2 separate regions of the Homo sapiens genome follow, and region 1 is linked to region 2. Evidence: promoter capture Hi-C in human tissues and cell types (Jung and others, 2019). All regions are on one chromosome and are shown on one strand. Each heading gives the region's core, a stretch centred on a gene start or on the middle of the fragment in contact. The rest is flanking DNA. Distances are from core to core; before and after follow the strand shown. Region 1 holds the start of ELAVL3 (ELAV like RNA binding protein 3). Region 2 holds the start of YIPF2 (Yip1 domain family member 2).

Region 1 (5,455 bases), core at 1,667-4,166, 550 kb after region 2:
ACAGGAGGAGGTGGAGGGGATGGTGTCAACATCTGACTCCTGATCCGATGACCCTAGAGCCGAAAGAGTTACTGGCTGCCCCCCTCCCATGGTGTCCCCAACCTGAGCAGAGTGAAGAGGTGACTGGGTGGTTCAGACCCAGGTTCTTGAGGCCTAGCCTGCTAATCTGGCCACCACCCGTTCTCCCTCCCATTTGTGCCAGAGCTTAGCGGGACCAGTATCTCGTTTCCTCTGTGGCTGAGCCGGCTGAGCTGATAATGGGGATCAGATTGATGGAAGCCACACCCGCCCTGCCCCAGCCTGCAGTAAGTGCACAGCCTGGGATGGTGGCTACATGGGCATCAAAGGGACTTCGGCGACTGGCCCCAGACAGAGATGGGGGGGTGGCAAAGTCAGGGAGGAGGAGGGCAGATAAAAGATGGAGGGTTAGGGAAGCTTCCCATTCTCTCCAGTGCTTCTTCTAAGTCTCCCCCGACTTTTGGTTTCTCTCTCCCTCTTTCTTCCTCTGTTTCCCTCTCTTCTCCACTGTCCTGCCCTCTCTCTGAACCGTTCTGTGTCCCTGGCCTCATCACTCTCTCTTCCTCTTTTCCACCATCGCACATACATCTGACGTATGGGTTTTGCAGTGAACACACCTGAGGCCACTTTTTTCTTAAAACCTCCTGTGTCTGACCCCCACGGCCCCCAGCTGCGGCCCCTGGCCCCAGTCACAGTGACAGATGCCTGGATACCGGCGACAATAGGGCATTGAGTGGCTATGCATGGTGAGGCTGGGCTACCACGTGGTGCTGACTGAGCCTCCTACTTCTGGGCCCTTCTTCAATGCAGGGTCCTCCTGGTCTTAATTTGTCACCTCTCTTCCTCCCAGCCTGTCCCCATGATACATCTCTGCCCCAGGGCTCGCTCACTGGAGAACCTAGGTCCTCAAGGCCCTTGTGTGACCTCTGACCACACCCTCTTTCCCTTTGTGCATTAGTTTCCTTTTTCAAATGAGAGAACCGATCAGAGGACGCTTAGGAGATGCTGGACTGTTGCGGGAGTTCTGAGGTCCTCAGGAGGCCACACTCCAGTTCCCAGACCTGGGTGAACAGCACGAGGCCCAGAGAGGGAAAGGAACGGCCTGAGGTCACACAGCAGGTGAGCCAGGCCTCCGGGACCTCATTTCTCAGAGCCAGGTGGGCGGGTCCCAGGGTCCAGGAGGGGAGAGGCTTAGGCATGGAGGGAGCGCCAATCATGCCCCCACCCCCAGTGCTAGCCACGACTCGAAAAAGGGGCCCGGAAAGAGACACAATGCACAGAGACACACACGCAGAGACGGAGAGATAGGAAGAGTGGAAGAGGGAGGCCCAGGCGCCGGGACCAGACAAAGGACGCGCGGCGGCGCGGGGAGCGGAGTCGCGCGGCAGGGGCGGGGGTGGAGCCGGGGTGGGGCTATAACTGGCCAGCCCCGCCCCCGGGATACGCCCGGGCTGCCGAGTGGGAATCCGAGGGCTCGGGCGAGGCCGGGCCCCCGGGGCCCTGGGGGCGGGGCCTAGATGGGCGTGCCCGGGCGTGGCCAGGCAGGGCGTGGCAGGGCGGGAGGGGCTGCGCGCTCGGGAGCTGACCAGCTCCGTGGCTGCTGAAAGCACCGAGCGCGGGGCTAGCGGTGCGGGCGAGCAGGCGGGCGGGCCGCGCTCAAGGTCACCTCGCGGCCCAGAGCCTTGGCGAGGTGGGGAGCCTGGACCTGGCCTAAGGGGGCTGTCTCGGCCTCCCACCCCATCTCCCGGGGGGCGGAGACCCGGGAGCCCAGAGGTGCCCCCCCAACCCGCGGGCCCTCCTCTCCCCTCCCCCTCCCCGCAGCCCGAGGCGCCCGCGCGAGGCTGCGGCCCGCGAAGAAGCGCCGAGAAACAAAGGGACGCGGCAGCAGCGGCGGCGGGCCCGCGGGGCCTCCGGGCGCGCCCCCTCCTCTCCCCTCCCCGCTTGCCGCAAGGTCGACGGGCTCGAGGACGAGACGCCCGCCTCCCGGGTGCGGCCGAGGCCCGGGGCGCGCGATCCGACGCCACCCGCTTTCCCAGGGCTCTCGGGGACGCTTTGTCGCTTTGGCTTGGCCCAGCACCAGTGATCGGGCCCTGCGTTTGCCTGGGCGGCCTGCGGGGTCTGGGCCTGGATGGAGGAAGCATCCTTAGCCGCCGCGGCCCCTCCCCCATCAGGCCTGCTGGAGAGGGGGCAATCCCGCCTCCAGGGCGGCGTCGGACGCCTCCCGAATCGCAGTCAGTCTCCCTAAGGCCCTCTCAGACCAAGCTCTAAGCGCCCTCAGCACTCTGGGCGCGGCCCTGCCCACTCTCAGGCCCCGAGGCTTGGTCCTACCCCCCCAACCCGGGCCTAGCTAGGCCTGGTCCTACCCCCCCCGCCGCACCCGCCCAATCTCCGCGGAGCCTGGGCCCAACTCCTCCCCGTCCCGATTCCCTTTCGGCGACAGGGGAATACCTACAGTGACCATTCTTGTGTGCCCGGCGGGCGCGGTCCGTGTTGAGGGGGGCTCCGGGGGTGGTGCACTCCTAGGGGGGCGCCCGATGCTCACGCTGGGGTCCCGCCCGGGCGGCCTCTGGTGCGGCCGCTGCAGATGTGGCGATGAAGGCGGCGGCTCCCTCGAGGGCCAGGGACGGGCCCGAACCCGGGGATGCGCGCGCGGATGGCCGGGCCCCGGGGTGGCCTGCGGGCGGCAGGGGATGGAAAGAGGGAGCGGGCGCGGGGTTGAGGACGCCCCCTGCGCGGCCCCGCGGGGCCCGGGGAGGTTGCGCTTCCCGACAGAGATCGCGGCGCTCTGCCTTTCGCCGCCGCCCCTCGGTCGGTCCTGTCCGGTCCCGTGTGTTCAAGTCCTCTCCCCTCGCCCACCCTCCCTCCCTCCCTCCGGCCCGCGCTGCGCGCTCCGCGCTCTGGACCGCGCCGCCGCCGCCCCCAGCCCTTTATAGCAGCAGCTGCCAGCGCCGGCGTCGCTCATTGGCTGCGGCGACCGAGCTCCGCCTCCTCGCGGCTCCCGACGGCGCGGCAGGTGGAAGTGAGCGCGCACTGGTCGGGACTCTGAATCCCCCAAAAGCGCATCCTAGGTGCTCGGGTTGCCAGATTTGGGCCCTCCTTCCCTCGAGGCCCTTGCTTCCTACCCTGGCACCCCTTCTTGGGCTGGCTTTCGGGCCAGGAGACGGGCTCCCCTCCTCCGTCCAGCTCCTAGAGCTGGAGGAGCCAACAGAGCGAGGAGGTATTAGTGGCCTGAATATGCGACCTTCCAGAGGTGTTGTCCACTGAGGGAACTGGACAGGGGATCAGGAACCAATATTTTAGTAGGCAGAGGCCTGGGTCCCCAGATTTGGAGGCACCAGTGTAGACCACCTCAAGACCACGGGGGAGGGTGGCTACTGTGGCCCTAGTCTTCTGCAGAAGGAGACTGGGACGCTGTTGGTTTTGAGTGAGCTGGATCCTTCTAGGGTTCAAAAGGTAAGGACTGGCACTCCCCAGTGCAAGGAAACTCCGCACTGCTCCGAAGGGGGTGAAAAGGTTTGGGGCTCAGTGTTCTGGACAATCATCGCTGGAGCCATGCAGCTCTGGGAAACCACGGATCCTTCTTGGACCCCACAGAACTGGGGTGGGTGGATCTGCCACATAAATGTCCTGGCTTTCTAGGCTCGTGATTGGTCCTCCTGACTGTGGAGTCATGCTCGCTCTCTGCTAGGGGGAACCTGGCCTCTCTCTAAGGCGTTGGGGGTGGCGCAGCCTCCTTTGGTGCGCGGGCGCCGGTGCATGTTTACGTCGGGGCGCGGGAACTAGCACACACTGGGGCGGGGTCGCCAGGGCGTGAGGCTTCAGCACCACAGACAGCAATCCGACAGTCCGGTCGAGGGCGCTGCCGGCGAGGTAGCCCAGACCCCCTAACTGGAGAGCGGCAGTCCCCACCCAATCCTCGTTCCTGCACGCCCTTTAGGCTCCAGACTGTCAGAGAGCGCCACCAGCGAGGAGAGCCTAATTTGCCCAATCAGGGGCGGCCCTTGAGATAACCAGTTACTGGAAGATGCCCTAGAGATCGAGCCAATGGGAGTGCGCGCACCAGGGGATGCTGCCACGCCTGGAAAGGGCAGGCCAATCGCAGTGGCCCGCGCAATAGGGGCGGTGGCGGTGCAGATCCCCGGGTGGCCCCTCTTGGGCTCGCCGGGGCGACCTGGCTGCGGGCGCTAGGGGCCCCAAGCGATGGTCTGTTCCCCACCCCGTGTTCCTCCCGGTTTCCGTCATCGGAAACTGAGCTAGGAGGGGGGCTGCTCCTGGGCGCGCGGACCCCGCTGCGGTTCCCATGGAAACCTGCCGGCTCCGGCAGTGCGGGGAGAGTGGAGGGGACCTGCCTCGCGGGGGGAGGGAGCTCGCGGGGGCGGCCCCAGCGGCCGGACTCGCTCATCCTTGCCGATTCTTCTGTCCCCGGCTGGGGTAGCCCCCCGGTCCGCAGCAGGAACTGAGGCATAGCTGGGGCCCCGCCTCATCCCCCGAACTGGTGAGGAACCGGCGGGGCCAATCTGCGCGTGGCGCCACAGGGCTCCCCCGGGCACGTGCCTGAGCTCGCGGCTGCGGTCCCCAGGGTCACGTGGCTGCGGCCACCAGGGCCTACGCGCCTCGCACGCCACCTAGCGGCCGCGCCTCGCTCCCCGCCCCTCTCTCTAGCGGCCCGCAGGAGGCGGCGGCCTCAGCATCCTCCTCCGGGAAATGGGGCCAGGGCAGCCGCCGCCAACTCCCCTTCCCCCCGCGGCTTCCTGTTTTAGGAACACGCCGAGCTAGTTCTACCTCGGGGTTTTGGCACTGGTTGTTCCTCTGGCCTGAGAATTTCCTCCCCCAGCTTTCTTCTGGGATAGATCTTTGTCATTCTGGTCTATGCGCAAATGCCACCTCCTCAGAGGCCCTCCCTGACCACCGACCTAAACAGCATCCCCGGAAAACAACGCATCACTCTCTCTTTTGCATGGCGCTTGTCGCTAGCTGCAAATGTTTCTCATTTTAGGGGTTTACTGAACACCTCCCCATCTCATCCCGGAGCTCACTGAGGGTGGGAGATGGGTGCCCCATAAAACAGGAGGAAGTGGAAATTAGGGTCCTGAGTTCCGGGAGATGCCCAGAGACCCCAGACCCCCAAGCCTCACCCCATCCTGTGGGAGCAGGGGCTGTGCGAGGCTGCTGGGCCCAGGGGCATCCCTCGTTCCCTGCCTCGCTTAGGAAGGGATCAAGTAGGCTGGAGACAGAGAGGGGCCTGGCACCCCAAATCATTCAGGCCTAGGGGAAGGGCATCTCCTTTCTCGCTCTTTAATCTCACTCTGCTCTCTTGACACAGTTCCAGCAATGCAGCCCCAGGCACCAGCTCCGAGAAGGATGCGGTGGGGCGGGGTGGGGAACCTGCCCAGGGGGCCCAGCTCTGGGGCGGGGCGGGGGCGCCTCCTTCCGGCCC
Region 2 (5,221 bases), core at 1,443-3,942:
CGGCCAGGCTGGATGGAGTAGTGGCATGATCTCGGCTCACTGCAACCTCTGCCTCCCGAGCTCAAGCAATTCTCCTACCTCAGCCACCCGAGTAGCTGGGATTACAGGCGTGTGCCACCACGCCTGGCTAATAGTTGTATTTTTAATAGAGACGGGATTTCACCATGTTGGCCAGGCTGGTCTCGAACTCCTGACCTCAGGTAATCCACCCACCTCGGCCTCCCAAAGTACTGGGATTACAGGCGTGAGCCACCGTTCCCAGCCCCCTCTTTTTTTTCCCTCTTTTTTTTTTTGTTTTGAGACGGAGTCTCGCTCTGTCACCCAGGCTGGAGTGCAGTGGTGCCATCTCGGCTCACTGCAAGCTCCGCCTCCTGGGTTCACACCATTCTCCTGCCTCAGCCTCCCAAAGAGCAGGGACTACAGGCGCCCACCACCACCCCCGGCTAATTTTTTGTATTTTTAGTAGAGATGGGGTTTCACCGTGTTAGCCAGGATGGTCTCGATCTCCTGACCTCATGATCCTCCCACCTTGGCCTCCCAAAGTGCTGGGATTACAGGCGTGAGCCACCGCACCCGGCCTCAGCACCCCCTTTTTCTTTTTGAGACAGAGTCTCACTCTGTTCAGGCTGGAGTGCAGTGGCACGATCTTGGCTCACTACCACCTCCGCCTCCCAGGTTCAAGTGATTCTCGAGCCTCAGACTCCTGAGTAGCTGGGACTACAGGTGTGTGCCACCATGCCTGGCTAATTTTTGTATTTTTAGTAGAGATGGGGTTTCACCGCGTTGGCCAGGCTGGTCTCCAACTCCTGACCTCAAGTGATCCACCGCCTCGGCATCCCAAAGTGCTAGGATTACAGGCGCCGACCACTGCACTTGGCTAATTTTTCTATTTTATTTTATTTTTTATTTAATTTTATTTTATTTATCTTATTTTATTTTTGAGACAGAGTCTCATTCTTTTTGCCCAGGCTGGAGTGCACTGGCACGATCTTGGCTCACTGCAACCTCCGCCTGGCGGATTCAAGCGATTCTCCTGCCTCAGCCTCCAGAGTAGCTGGGATTACAGGCGCCCACCACAAAGCCCGGCTAATTTTGTTGTATTTTTAGTAGAGACGGGGTTTCACCATGTTTGGCCAGGCTGGTCTCAAACTCCTGACCTCAGGTGATCCACCCACCCAGGCCTCTCAAAGTGCTGGGATTACAGGCATGAGCCACCCCGCACCCGGCAGTTTTTGTATTTTTGGTAGAGACGGGGTTTCCCCATGTTAGCCAGGCTGGTCTTGAACTCCTCAGGTTATCTGCCCACCTCGGCCCCCTTAAGTGCTGGGATTACAGGCAGGAGCCACTGCGCCCAGTCCATCTTTGGTCTTCTGCATATGCTGTTCCCTGTGCCTGGAACATATACTCCTGCTTCCCTACCCTATTCCCCAGGGAAGCCTTCTGTCTCCTTTAGGTCTCAGCCAATTCCTCACCTCCCCCAGGAGGCCTTTCTCTAACCCACCAGATTGTGTGTGTCCCCTGTGTTCCCATAGTCCCGATCCATAACCAGTCCCACCATAACCCTTTGAGAGCACCACAGTTCGTTCACCAGCACCCACCATCACCAGCACCCTGCCCAGGGGAAGAGTGGCTGAACCCTGAGCATAACTCTGAGCCCCATCCCACCTGCCTCCCCAGCCTGACCTGTGAGGTGTCCACGTCAAAGAAGCTCTGATAGTAGCTGAAGGTCCAGAATCCCGGCTGCTGCTGCTGCTGCTGCTCCTGCAGGAGCTGCACATTGCGGGCATTCAGTGCCTGCCCGGAGAGCCTGGGTCAGCTGGGGGCTGCAAGGAGGCAGGACACAGGGACTCACCGCGGCCTTGTCACTCTCCTCCTCCACCTCATCCTCGGCTCCATAGCTGCCACCTGAGCCCACGGCCACAGCCACGTGCCCTTGTGGGGTCAGCTGATCGCTTCTGCTGGTGGTGGCTGCATCTGGGGTGTCAGCCAGAAGATTAGTGGCCTCCTCGAATTCTGTGGAGGAGGTATATGGGACACACGCACGTTTGAGGGGTGGAAAGAACTCGACTGGGCCCAAGCTAAACCGATGCTCATCTGGGGGCGGAGGCTCTGCTGAGCCATTGATCTCCCCCAAGGTGGGGCCCAACTTCCTCAGTTTGGAGGCATCCGGAGGACATCTGTTCCCTTCCTCCTAAAGTGGAACTGCAACTTAGGGTTGACGCTGGGATGGGGTCAGGGTCTGGGGACGAGAGGCTCGGGTTTGAGGTCTGAGTTCAGGGCGGGGGCGGGGTTCGAGTCAGAGATGGGTCTCACTCCTGGGTCAGGGTTCACAGCCGCCTAGGCTTCGGGGTAGAGAAATTGGAAGCCGTATCGGGGGGAGGTTCTGGCCCGGGGCGGGAGTGGGAGATCCGGCCACGTCGGGGCCGCACTCACCATGGAAGGTCAGCTCGTCGGCCGATGCCATGGTCGTTCAGGGGCGTCTCCGCATCCCTCGCTGAGGACAGAGACCGGTCAGGCACACTTCCCCCCCGCCCCCGAGCCGGTCCCTCGGCCCCCAGCCCTACCTGGCGACCAACTGCACCCACGGAGGCTTGAACTCGTCGTCCCGTCCCCACAGGTGCGCTCCGCCCCCCCTCACCTGAGGCCACCTGGGCCGGCGTGGCTGGGGCTCTCTGCGCCTGCGCGTCTCGCCTACCCGTCAGACTCCAACCGACTCAGACCTGACAGCAACATCCGGCGCCTGTCCTCTTTCTATCCTCTCCCGTTGGGAAGCCACTTCCGGTAAAGTTGGCGCTTGCGCAGAAGAGACTCCCGGGCTCTTAACGTCGGGTATCAGGAGTTTCTTCCCGGAGCAAGGACCCCCAAGACGGAAGAGGATGGCCGCGGCGGCTCTGAGGAGATTTTGGTCCCGGCGCCGCGCAGAGGCGGGCGACGCGGTAGTGGCGAAGCCGGGAGTGTGGGCGCGGCTGGGTGAGTAGCGGCGGAAGGCGGCAGGGTGGGTGGCCGCCGCGACAGGGTGGGTGGCCGCCGCGGCCGGATCACTCTTACCGCGCTCCTCTCCCCTCAGGGTCCTGGGCCCGCGCGCTGCTCCGGGACTACGCCGAGGCCTGCAGGGACGCTTCGGCGGAGGCTAGGGCCCGGCCGGGGCGCGCCGCTGTGTATGTGGGTCTGCTGGGCGGCGCGGCGGCCTGCTTCACGCTGGCGCCCAGCGAGGGTGCCTTCGAGGAGGCGCTGCTGGAGGCGTCGGGGACCCTCCTGCTGCTGGCGCCGGCCACCCGCAACCGCGAGTCCGAAGCCTTCGTGCAGAGGCTGCTCTGGCTGCGGGGCCGTGGCCGCCTGCGCTACGTCAACCTGGGGCTCTGCTCGCTGGTGTACGAGGCGCCCTTCGACGCCCAGGCCAGCCTCTACCAGGCGCGTTGCCGCTACCTGCAGCCCCGCTGGACCGACTTCCCCGGCCGGGTCCTGGACGTGGGCTTCGTGGGTCGCTGGTGGGTGCTGGGGGCCTGGATGCGCGACTGCGACATCAACGACGACGAATTCCTGCACCTGCCGGCGCATTTGCGGGTGGTCGGGCCCCAGCAGCTGCATTCCGAGACCAACGAGCGGCTCTTCGATGAGAAGTACAAGCCTGTCGTGCTCACCGACGATCAGGTGGACCAGGCGCTGTGGGAGGAGCAGGTCTTGCAGAAGGAGAAGAAGGACAGGCTCGCCCTGAGCCAGGCCCACTCGCTGGTGCAGGCGGAGGCCCCGAGATGAAACCCTGAGGCCCCCGAGTCCTGGCAAACTGCTTGCCTGGGGTGGTGCAGTTCTGAGTGTGCCTCACCTGCAGAACAGCTGAGACAGATGATGTGCAAAGTGTTTTCTCACTGGATTTGCACAAGTTTGGGGAGCCTTTCTGCCCCCCGTCTTTGTTCTTTATTAGCTGAAGCTAATTCAGAGCCACCTGGGTCCGGGAGTTGGGGACAGCAGAACGACTTGACACATGTTCATCACTGGCAGAGCTGGTCATGAGCCTTTTATATAAGCCTTTTTCATCGGGCCTCAGAGGCCCTCCTTAAGGAGGTACCACATTGGTCAGCTGACTTGCAAACTCTTCTAAGGCCACTTAGATTTTCTTTTTCAAGTTTGGGTTGTGGCCTGGCATGGTGATGTCTGTAATCCCAGCAGTTTGCAAACTGAGGCAAGAGAATCGCTTGAGGCCAGGAGTTTGAGGCCAGCTAGAGTGACATAGCAAGACTCCGATGCTACAAAAAAGAATAATAATAGTAATTAACTAAATAAAATTTGAGCTGAAATGTTTTTATTCTATGACCTATTCTCTCTCGTTTTTTTTTTTTTTTTTTTTGAGACAGGGTCTTGCTCTGTTTTGCCTGCTGGAGTGCAGTGGTGCAATCTCGGCTCACTGCAACCTCTGCCTCCCAGGTTCAAGTGATTCTCCTGCCTCAGCCTCCTCAGTAGCTGGGATTACAGGCCTGTGCCAACATGCCTGGCAAATTGTTGTATTTTTAATAGAGATGGGGTTTCACCATATTGGCCAGGCTGGTCTTGAACTCCTGACCTCAGGTGATCCACCTGCCTCGCATTTCCAAAGTGCTGGGATTATAGGAGTGAACCACCACACCTGGCCTTTCATTTTGATAAGTAACATTTTTGCCATTCCCAGCTCTTTGGAAGGCTGAGGTAGGAGGATTGCTTGAGATCAGGAGTTCAAGACCAGTTTAGGTAAAATAGTGAGAGCTTTCTCAAAAACTAAAATATTTGGAAGGGTAAAGCAGGCAAATCATTTGAGCTTAGGAGTTCAACACCAGCCTGGGCAATATGGCAAAACCCCGTCTCTACAAAAAGTACAAAAATTTACCAAAGGTGTTGAATGAGAATTGAAAATATGTATACATAGAAAAATTAGCCAGACATGTTGGACCATGTCTGTAGTCCCAGCTATTCAGGAAGGCTGAGATGGGAGGATCACCTGAGCCTGGGAGTTCAACGCTGCAGTGAGCCACGATCGTGCCACTGCACTCCATCTTGGACAACAGAGTGAGACTGTCTCAAAAAGTAAAATAAGTGGATGGGCCCGGTGGCTCAAGCCTGTAATCCCAGCACTTTGGGAGGCCGAGGCAGGTGGATCACGACGTCAGGAGATGGAGACCATCCTAGCTAACACGGTGAAACCCCATCTCTACTAAAAATTCAAAAAAATTGGCCGGGCGCGGTGGCTCAC

The links. Contacts are between HindIII fragments. The study calls those that stand out against the background at their distance.
Region 1: the fragment with the promoter of ELAVL3 here is called in contact with the fragment with the promoter of YIPF2 in region 2 in 3 of the 25 tissues and cell types used here (dorsolateral prefrontal cortex, hippocampus and lymphoblastoid cells).

Annotation. Positions count from the first base shown.
Region 1 is chr19:11,478,130-11,483,584 of GRCh38, forward strand. It overlaps ELAVL3 (ELAV like RNA binding protein 3), which reads right to left and starts at 2,917. Exons shown (of 7, transcript NM_001420.4): 1 at 2,471-2,917. The coding sequence starts at 2,479. It overlaps ZNF653 (zinc finger protein 653), which reads right to left. Exons shown (of 9, transcript NM_138783.4): 9 at 5,300-5,455. RefSeq lists silencers at 1,435-1,629, 4,004-4,253, 4,284-4,723. The HindIII fragment of the contact is 31,814 bases long and covers 1-5,455 here.
Region 2 is chr19:10,925,947-10,931,167 of GRCh38, forward strand. YIPF2 (Yip1 domain family member 2) reads right to left here and starts at 2,693. Exons shown (of 10, transcript NM_001321439.2): 1 at 2,565-2,693; 2 at 2,434-2,494; 3 at 1,853-2,013; 4 at 1,684-1,770. The coding sequence starts at 2,464. It overlaps TIMM29 (translocase of inner mitochondrial membrane 29), which reads left to right and starts at 2,865. Exons shown (of 2, transcript NM_138358.4): 1 at 2,865-2,970; 2 at 3,068-4,308. The coding sequence starts at 2,877. The coding sequence ends at 3,756. RefSeq lists enhancers at 1,324-2,026, 2,027-2,727 and silencers at 2,941-3,220, 3,261-3,310. The HindIII fragment of the contact is 42,517 bases long and covers 1-5,221 here.